3 separate regions of the Homo sapiens genome follow, and regions 1 and 3 are each linked to region 2. The links are contacts of gene promoters, found by promoter capture Hi-C in blood cells and fetal thymus (Javierre and others, 2016). All regions are on one chromosome and are shown on one strand. Each heading gives the region's core, a stretch centred on a gene start or on the middle of the fragment in contact. The rest is flanking DNA. Distances are from core to core; before and after follow the strand shown. Region 1 has its middle 35 kb from the start of RDH12. Region 2 holds the start of PLEKHH1 (pleckstrin homology, MyTH4 and FERM domain containing H1). Region 3 overlaps RDH12 (retinol dehydrogenase 12).

The links. Contacts are between HindIII fragments. The CHiCAGO score rates a contact against its expected background, and 5 or more counts as called.
Region 1: a fragment that was not itself captured here is called in contact with the fragment with the promoter of PLEKHH1 in region 2 in 3 of 17 cell types (M0 macrophages, M2 macrophages and M1 macrophages); the score reaches 6.3 in M0 macrophages.
Region 3: a contact is called between a fragment that was not itself captured here and the fragment with the promoter of PLEKHH1 in region 2, in 3 of 17 cell types (M1 macrophages, M0 macrophages and M2 macrophages). The highest score is 9.0, in M1 macrophages.

What each region holds. Positions count from the first base shown.
Region 1 is chr14:67,735,638-67,738,337 of GRCh38, reverse strand. It overlaps a transcript of ZFYVE26 not described here. Among named protein-coding and RNA genes, the nearest start is that of RDH12, 35 kb to the right of the region's middle. The HindIII fragment of the contact is 2,027 bases long and covers 259-2,285 here.
Region 2 is chr14:67,531,992-67,534,691 of GRCh38, reverse strand. PLEKHH1 (pleckstrin homology, MyTH4 and FERM domain containing H1) reads right to left here and starts at 1,402. Exons shown (of 29, transcript NM_020715.3): 1 at 1,294-1,402. It also overlaps a transcript of GPHN not described here and a transcript of TMEM229B not described here. RefSeq lists a silencer at 1,309-1,778. The HindIII fragment of the contact is 32,076 bases long and covers 1-2,700 here.
Region 3 is chr14:67,713,852-67,716,551 of GRCh38, reverse strand. All of the region lies in intron 1 of RDH12 (retinol dehydrogenase 12), which reads right to left. It also overlaps a transcript of GPHN not described here and the pseudogene RPL21P9. Among named protein-coding and RNA genes, the nearest start is that of RDH12, 13 kb to the right of the region's middle. The HindIII fragment of the contact is 604 bases long and covers 1,075-1,678 here.

The DNA.
Region 1 (2,700 bases), core at 23-2,522, 200 kb before region 2:
TATATAATTATTATATAATCATGTCAGATTGTATAATCATACCACAGATTAGTTTTTCGCCAACTGATGGACTTTTAGGCTATTTCCATTTTTTTGCTAATATGAACAATGCCTCCTCTTTACATACATAGGCTAATGTTACTGCAGATATTAAGAAGCTGAATTGCTGGTAGAAATGGCTCCACCATTTCTTCCACTCATAGCAGCAGTGTATAAAAATATCTATTTTTCTATATTTTTGCCAATATTTGCTAAGCTTTCAAATTTTTGACAATGTGATGGTTTAAAATGGTATAATGGCATCTTGTTTTAATTTGCAGTTCTCTGATCACTGGTCAGGTTAAATATCTTGACTTAGGTACATTGGCCATTTGCGTTTCTTCTGAAAATTTCCTATTTATAACTTTTGCAAAGTTCTCTGTTGGGTTCTGTGTCTTGTTCTTATTGAGAAGTAGAAGTTCTTTATATGATAATAAGTTGAGAGTGGTGACTCACACCTGTAAGCCCAGCACTTTGGGAGGCCAAGGTGGGAGGATCACTTGAGTCCAGGAGTTTGAGATCAGCCTGGGCAATAAAGCGAGACCCCAAGTCGAAAGAAAAATGAATAAAAATATGGGTACTACTCTTTTGTGTGATACATATTATCTATGTAAATATAAGATAGGTCATATATACATATACATCTGCAGCAGATGCTGTGTTGCACCACCCAGATTCCCTCCTATGGTTTGGTTCTGTGTCCCCACCCAAATCTCATCTCAAATTGTAATCCCCATGTGTTGAGGGAGGGACCTGGTGGGAGTTGACTGAATCATGAGGGTGGTTTCCCCCATTGTCTTCTCGTGATAGTGAGAGAGTTCTCATGAGACCTGATGGTTTTAAAAGTGGCAGTTTCCCCTGCACTCTCTCTCTCTCCTGCCACCTTATGAAGATGTGCCTTGCTTCCCTTTCACCTTCCACCATGATTGTAAGTTTCCTGAGGCCTCCCCGGCCATGTGGAAGTATGAGCCAATTAAACCTCTTTTCTTTATAAATTACCCGGTCTTGGGTAGGATCTTTATAGCAGTGTGAGAATAGACTAATATACTCCCTTTAGAAATGAAGCATACAGCTAGGCATAGTGGCTCATGCTTGTAATCCCAGCACTTTGATAGGCCAAGACAGGAAGATTGCTTGAGCCCAGGAATTCAAGGCCAGCATGGGCAACAGAGAGAGACCTTGTCTCTACCGAAAAAAAAAAAAAAAAAAAGAAAAGAAAAAGAAATGAAGCACTTATTCTCCCAGATGCTGGAAATGTACACAGCTGCCAACTCTCAGCTGAGTTTTTATCTAGAACTTGCCCTCACCCAGGTCATGCCCCCTCCCTGGAAGCTGCCCACACCCAATTACTGGTCACTGCGGGTGTTTAAAGACCAACCTCCTTTCCTCAATTCAAGACAGCTCAGCTCCAGAGCTCTCTGTGGAACAGGATCACCTAACCCTTTAGTGTGACTGCATCGCAGATCAACTTCACCCTCTGCCCTGTCCCGCTTCTCTCACTCCCCTATAGATACCAATCCTAACAGTCCTCCTAATAAATTTGCTGTGTGCAAATGTCTGTATCTCGAAGTCCGTTTTCTAGAATACATAACGTAAAACAATTTCAAATATGTTCACCATTATCACTTGACTTTGAACTTTGTTTGAGGTATGCTTTTTGGATGTATTCCTCTTTTCCCATATGCTTTTTGCTTTTCATGTCTTAAGAATGCTATCCCTCTTCCAAGGGCATAAAGATATTCTTCTATATTTTTTTCTAATATTTTCACAACTTTTTTTGCCTTTTAGTCCACATAGTACTCATTTGTATGCATGGTGTGAGGCAAAGAATCTAACTTTATGTTTCATTTGGATAGTTATTTGTCCAGCACCACTTATGACATTGTCTATGTTTTTCTGACTGATTTGAAATGCCTCTTCTACAATATGAAAATATGATAGCGATATCAAAATAGCATATATGAGAATATGATAGCCGTAGAAGAGACGTTTCAATACCCAATACCCAACTACAGTTGAATGCTTCACAGTGAGCATTTGACCCAAGCCAAACCTGGAATTTTTTAAATTCTAAAAATAGGAAATGGCTGCAGGAACTCTTCAATGGTAGAGGGAGAGGAGTCTGGTGTTGCTTGGCGCTTGAGTTCTAGTTATTTCTAAGATACATCTCTGCCCATTCCCACTTTCCAGTTTCAACCCTTCCTTGAGTTTATGAGCAAAATATTGCATGGTTTGGGACTTAAGCTTGCTCAAACTGAGTGTCCATCTTATAACTAAAAGAGACCAAATACACAAGGTATATCCTCCTGAGCTTGGGACGCATGGCAACATTGTATACGAAGTTGAGTTGGACAAGGGCCAAGTGCCACCCAAGGTAATCTGTGGCAGCTAGTCACCACCTAGGAAATCGGTGCTCTGAAACTGTTTGTTTCTTGAGTTTCATATGTCTCTTTGATTTCCTTTTCCTTTAGTTTCCCATTGAAGTGTTATTTTTAGGAAATTAGGACAGTCTCAGCTGAGCCAAAAGAAAAAGATTTTCCACCCCAGGCTAGATTAGCTAAGGGTGTCAGAGGCTAAGAGAAGCCAGGAATAGTGAAGGCAGTGGAACTGGGGCAGTTAGAGAAGCACCTAGGAGGGAAGTCTGGAACAACTGAAATCCCT
Region 2 (2,700 bases), core at 153-2,652:
ATGAGTTTGGGGCCACAGGCTGCACCCCACAATTGCCCAACTCTGAGCAGGCCCCCTCAGCAGTCTATGGGAAGGTGGTAGAAGTGGACTGAACCATACGTTAGGAATTTAGGAGGCTTGGGTTTCAGTTATGGCTCTTCCACTTTTTAGCTATGTGACCATGGGCATATCACAACAATTTTTTTTTTAACAGACAGGATCATCAGCCTCCCAAGTTAGCTGGGACTACAGGCCCACACCACCACACCCAGCTAATTTTTAAATTTTTATTTATTTGTAGACACAGGGTCTCCCTATGTTGCCCAGGCTGGTCTTGAACTCCTGGCATCAAGCTCTCCTCCTGCCTTGGCTTCCCAAAGTGCTGGGATTACAGGCATAAGCCACTGCAACTGGCCTAAATCACAACTTTTCAGAGTCCCAGCTTCCTCCTTTGGAAAAATGGGGCCAATAATATGCAGAAACACTAATACCGATGTTCTATAAAGCGTTCAGTGATGGTACTAGCCCTATACACAGTGTCTGTCACATAGAAGACAGTCCAAACAGTTTGATGAAGGAACTGATAATTCTCCCACTGAATTTTTTAAATGGTCTTTCAAGTGTTTTACCTGAACCAAGGCTCTGTCTTGGAAGAGTTTTATGAGGTGGATTCATAGTAAAAGCTATGGAGGAGATATCCTGGCAAGCAGAAATCCCACAAGGAGAGGAGTTTCCTTCCAGATGAGGCTCTTCACCGCCTCTGCCACCCCCACTAAGGCCCCTGGTTCCTGGTGACCGAGTCCTCGCTAAGACTCCTAGGACACAATGCTCTGTGTCATTCGGCGCCCAACCTGTTTTCTTTTCTGCTTGAATGACCTGCTCCTAGGAGTCGAGCCTGAGCCATAGGGTCCCAAAGACAACACTCAGAAATCACAGAAGAAATAACCTGAGGTGAGATGGGGAGGGGTGCGGGAAGGGGTGAAAGGGAGCGAGCACCGATAGCAAGGTGGCAGCCTGCACGTCCGCTCCGAGGGCCCTTCCCAGGAGCGGCTGGATCTGACCGATCCCCAAGTCCAGGTACTCCCGGGGGAGGCTCCTCCTGGCCTCGCGGCGCGAGTCCCCTGGGGCGCCCGGCTTCCCAAGCCAGACCCGCGCTCCAGCGCTCCCCGCCGCTGGGAGCTCGCTTCCAGGTAGGGAGGCACCTGCTCCGGATCGTCCTCTGGGCCCGAGGGGCCGTCCCCCGCGCGCAGCCTGACGCCCTCCGCCGCGGCGCAGCCCCAGCCCACCACAGCGGCGGGAGCGCGGGTCGCTCACCTCCAGCGAGCTCGCGGCCGTCCCCGCCGCGCACTGGGCACACGGGCGCCCTCGGGCCGCCGCCGCAGCCGACCTTGCGTCGCTCTCGCCGGAGTCCCGGGCTGCCGCCGGTTCTCCCCTCCCCGGCAGCAGGGGTCGTGGGCTGCGGGGCGGGGCGAGGCTGGAGCGGGAGGGGTGCCCGCGGGCTCGCTGCACAAAGCCCGGCCGAGCCTTGCTGCGCCCCATTCAACGCTCCGCCGGGCGCCCTCCTCCCCTCGGCTCCCCGCCCGCTCCTTAAAGGCAGAGCGCTGGGCTCAGCTCTCCAGGCAGCTCGCGGAGAGGCACAGGAAATGACCTCAGCAGGCTCCAGCCTCCCACTTCTCCGCACCGCTGGGCTCGTCCCTGGGGCGGCAGGGAGGGCGGCGGGGTGTCCCGGGCGCCGGCCCGGAGCTCTCCGAGGAGGCCGCACCAGCTGCCGCAAGGGGTGGCCAGAGCGCCCCGGGGATCTGCTTGACCCCAAATAGCGGGGGACCCTCGCGGGCTGCGGGACAAGACCAGACCGTCTCCGCCAAAGGTTCCAGCATTCTCCTGGCCACCTGTGGGAACTGTAACGTCTGGATATTTGGAACAGAAGTCCATATTTCAGTCTGGCAGACCAAATGTTCTGAGTTGCAATTTGCAGGAGAAAAAGAAAAAATAAGTTACGACAGCCCAGAGAGTAACTTACTTGCTTATTTTCTGGTCTCGCTATGTTGCCCAGGCTGGACTCGAACTCCGGAGCTCAAGTGATCTTCCCGCCTGGGCCTCCAGGCCGGCTTATGTATATGTTATTTTAAAGGAGGGCCCAGGAGGACCCTGGCTGCCAGGCAGTTTGCAGGGCAGTCATCAGCGTGCCCATGTGCTCCTCGTTCTCAGACATTTGCAGATCTCAGATCGCCCAAAGCAATCTCATACCCAGAGGGGTTGGAAAACTCAACATTTGGCTAGGTGAGCCTGGAGTAAAGAAGATGCAAATAGAGACCATTGCAGGGAGGGATCCACACTTCAAAACAGAGCCTTCTTCCTCAACCCTGCAGGCTCTCTGTCAGTGAAGGACTGAACAGAAGCAAAATACCATCAGCGCCTGTTTCTCCAAATGGTCCTTGGAAGACTCATCCCAGGCACCATGAAGAACACCCCCACCCTGGGTTTGAATCTGAATCTCTAACTAAAGTACCCCAGGCCATTCTCACGTAGAAGTTTTGAGAGCCCAGACACTAAGGAAAGCTGGTAGTGCAGGAGGCCAAACGTGAGAATTTAACTGGGCCAATGGGACTTCAATGGCTGAACTTGCAAACAGCTTTATAGCTCGTGGGGATTGGGATAGATTAGCCCCATTTTGTGGGACAATGCTCAGGCTATCCACTTCAACATTCCAGAAGTTGCATA
Region 3 (2,700 bases), core at 127-2,626, 180 kb before region 2:
TGCAATGGAAGTACACATGCAGACATACACACAAACACGTGTGTACACACACTTTCTGTCATGGAAAATCAAGAAGCGTAACATTTCAAAATGAAAATTTTTTATAAATTGCCATATTCACTTTTTTAAAAACTTTCTAACATAAATGGAATTTTTTTTCAGCTGAAGAAATCTTTTATTGTGTTTAAGGTCCAACTTAAATATATCTCCTCTCTGCAGCTTTCACCTATCCTAATCAATCATTCACTTCTCTTGCTCCCATACACTATATTTGCCTTTTCTGTACAGCAGTCACAGCGGTTTGACTTATAACTTAGTTAGGCAATTTCTTTTTTCTTTTCTTTTTTTTTTTTTTGAGACGGAGTCTCACTCTGTCGTCCAGGCTGGAGTGCAGTGGCGTGATCTCGGCCCACTGCAAGCTCCGCCTCCCAGGTTCACGCCATTCTCCTGCCTCAGTCTCCAGAGTAGCTGGGACTACAGGCACCGGCTACCACCCCCGGCTAATTTTTTTTGTATTTTTAGTAGAGACGGGGTTTCACCATGTTAGCCAGGATGGTCTCTATCTCTTGACCTCGTGATCCGCCCGCCTCGGCCTCCCAAAGTGCTGGGATTACAGGCGTAAGCCACTGCCCCCGGCCTCTAGGCAACTTCTTATCTCATCAGCTCAGGGACAGAAATAAGCTCTACATTTGTGTTCCCCCAGCACATGGAACCAAGGTTTGCATGAAGCAGACATGCAATAAATAGTGGTGAATATGGTTGAGTTTACAGTAATCTCTCCCTGGTTATGAGATTCTAAGATATCCTAATTTAATTATTTGCAACTTCGTGAGTATTGCAAAATTTGGATTCCAATAGAAGTAAATGGTGAGTCACTCCTTCAGAAGATACTTACAAAAAGAACGAACTTGGCATTGGGGACTGAAATAGAGTAAAGTAGAAATGAAACTAAGGGATTTTTGCAATTAAATGTTGGGAAATTTTTTTAAATAAAAGAGGGCCAATAAGCCCAGGCCTTACGCCTGCACTGTGGTGAGGTGCTCAGGATGGCAGGGGGCAAAGCTGTGCAAAGCTTCTGCCAACTCAAGGGCTTACAGCAATCGGTGAAGTCATAGGCATCCAACATCAGGACAAGGACAGATAAAGAAATGCCTCTTAGACAAAATGTTTTGCTATTTTCTGTTTGGAGTAAACCAAATAATATAGAGAATCATTTAAAGAATACTCAGCATGACTTACTGCCCAGCTTATGAAATAAAACATCATCAGAAGTAGATCTGGATATTGTAGGGCCTGAAGTCTATTCAATTTAGGGGGCTCCCCCCCTTTTATTTTTTAACGGCTATTATGCTATGAATTCGTAGGGAATAGGTTCCAAGCAACTTAGGCTTCTTTCCATTGGTTCTCACAAAGTGAGCTTCACAAAGTGGAGAAGGCTGGCACTTCAGGTACTTTTCTCTTTTGCTTCCTTCTTTTTCTGATCCTTTTCCTTTACATGCTTCAGGAAGTTATCTTGGCCCTTAGACTGCTTAATATGCTCAATAAACACATTAATTCTCTCAGCAAGAATCTTGCCTTTAATTTGTTTGTGTCCAAGAACACTGTTGATAGGCTCTTCCAGTTTTGCCGTGGTAACATGTGTGGGGCATTCAGTGAATGCCTTGAGTTGGCAGAAGCTTTGCACAGGTTTGCCTCTGCAATCTTGAGCACCTCACCACAGTGCAGGTGTAAGGCCTGGGCTTATTGGCCCTCTTTTATTTTTAAAAATTGCCTAACATTTAATTTCAAAAATCCCTTAGTCTCTTTTCAACTTATATCCCATTTCAGTCCCTAATACCATGATAACATGTGTGGGGCATTTTTGAACAGTTCCCATTCCCTTGATGTCTGCAACATAACCTTTCTTGTAGATTTGCATGGTTGTGGCCAAAGGAACAACTCCATGTTTTCTAAAAGGCCTAGAGAACATATATTGGTGTCCCTCCTCTTTCCCTTAGTGTTCCTCATTTTGGAGAATAACTGGAAGACGGCAGTTCCTTCTGAAAGGCTAGGGAACTCTTTTTAATAAAAAGAATATAAAACTATGAGTAAATATTAGGTACAAAAATAAAACAAAGCTGGGCACAGAGGCTCACACCTGTAATCCCAGCATTTTGGGAGGCCAAGGCAGGAGGATTTATTGAGGCAAGGAGTTTGAGACCAAGAGCAACATAATCAGATCTCAGCTCTACTAAAAAAATGAAAAAAAAATTAGCTGGCCATGGAGTGCACTCCTACAGTCCCTGCTACTCAAGAGGCTGAGGCAGGAGGAGAACTTGAGCCCTGAAGGTGGAGGCTGCAGGGATCTGTGATCACACCACTGCACTCCAGCCTGGGAGACGGAGCAAGACCCTGTCTCAAAAGTAAAGCAAGAAGTTAATTACAAGAAAAAAGTAAATAGGAAATTACAATTTTTTTAAATCTAATAGTTGCTACTGTGAAAGGAAACATTTTGGGCCCCCAAAATCACTAAGCTAAAGGGAAAATTCAAGCTGGGAACTGTTTAGGGCAAACCTGCCTCCCATTCTATTCAAAGTCATACCTCTCCTCATTAAGATAAATGCATATCTGGTTGCCTCTTTGAAAAGGCTAAACAGAAACTCAAAAGAATGCAGCTGTTTTTCTCTCACCTACCTGTGACTTGGAAGCCCCCTCCCTGCT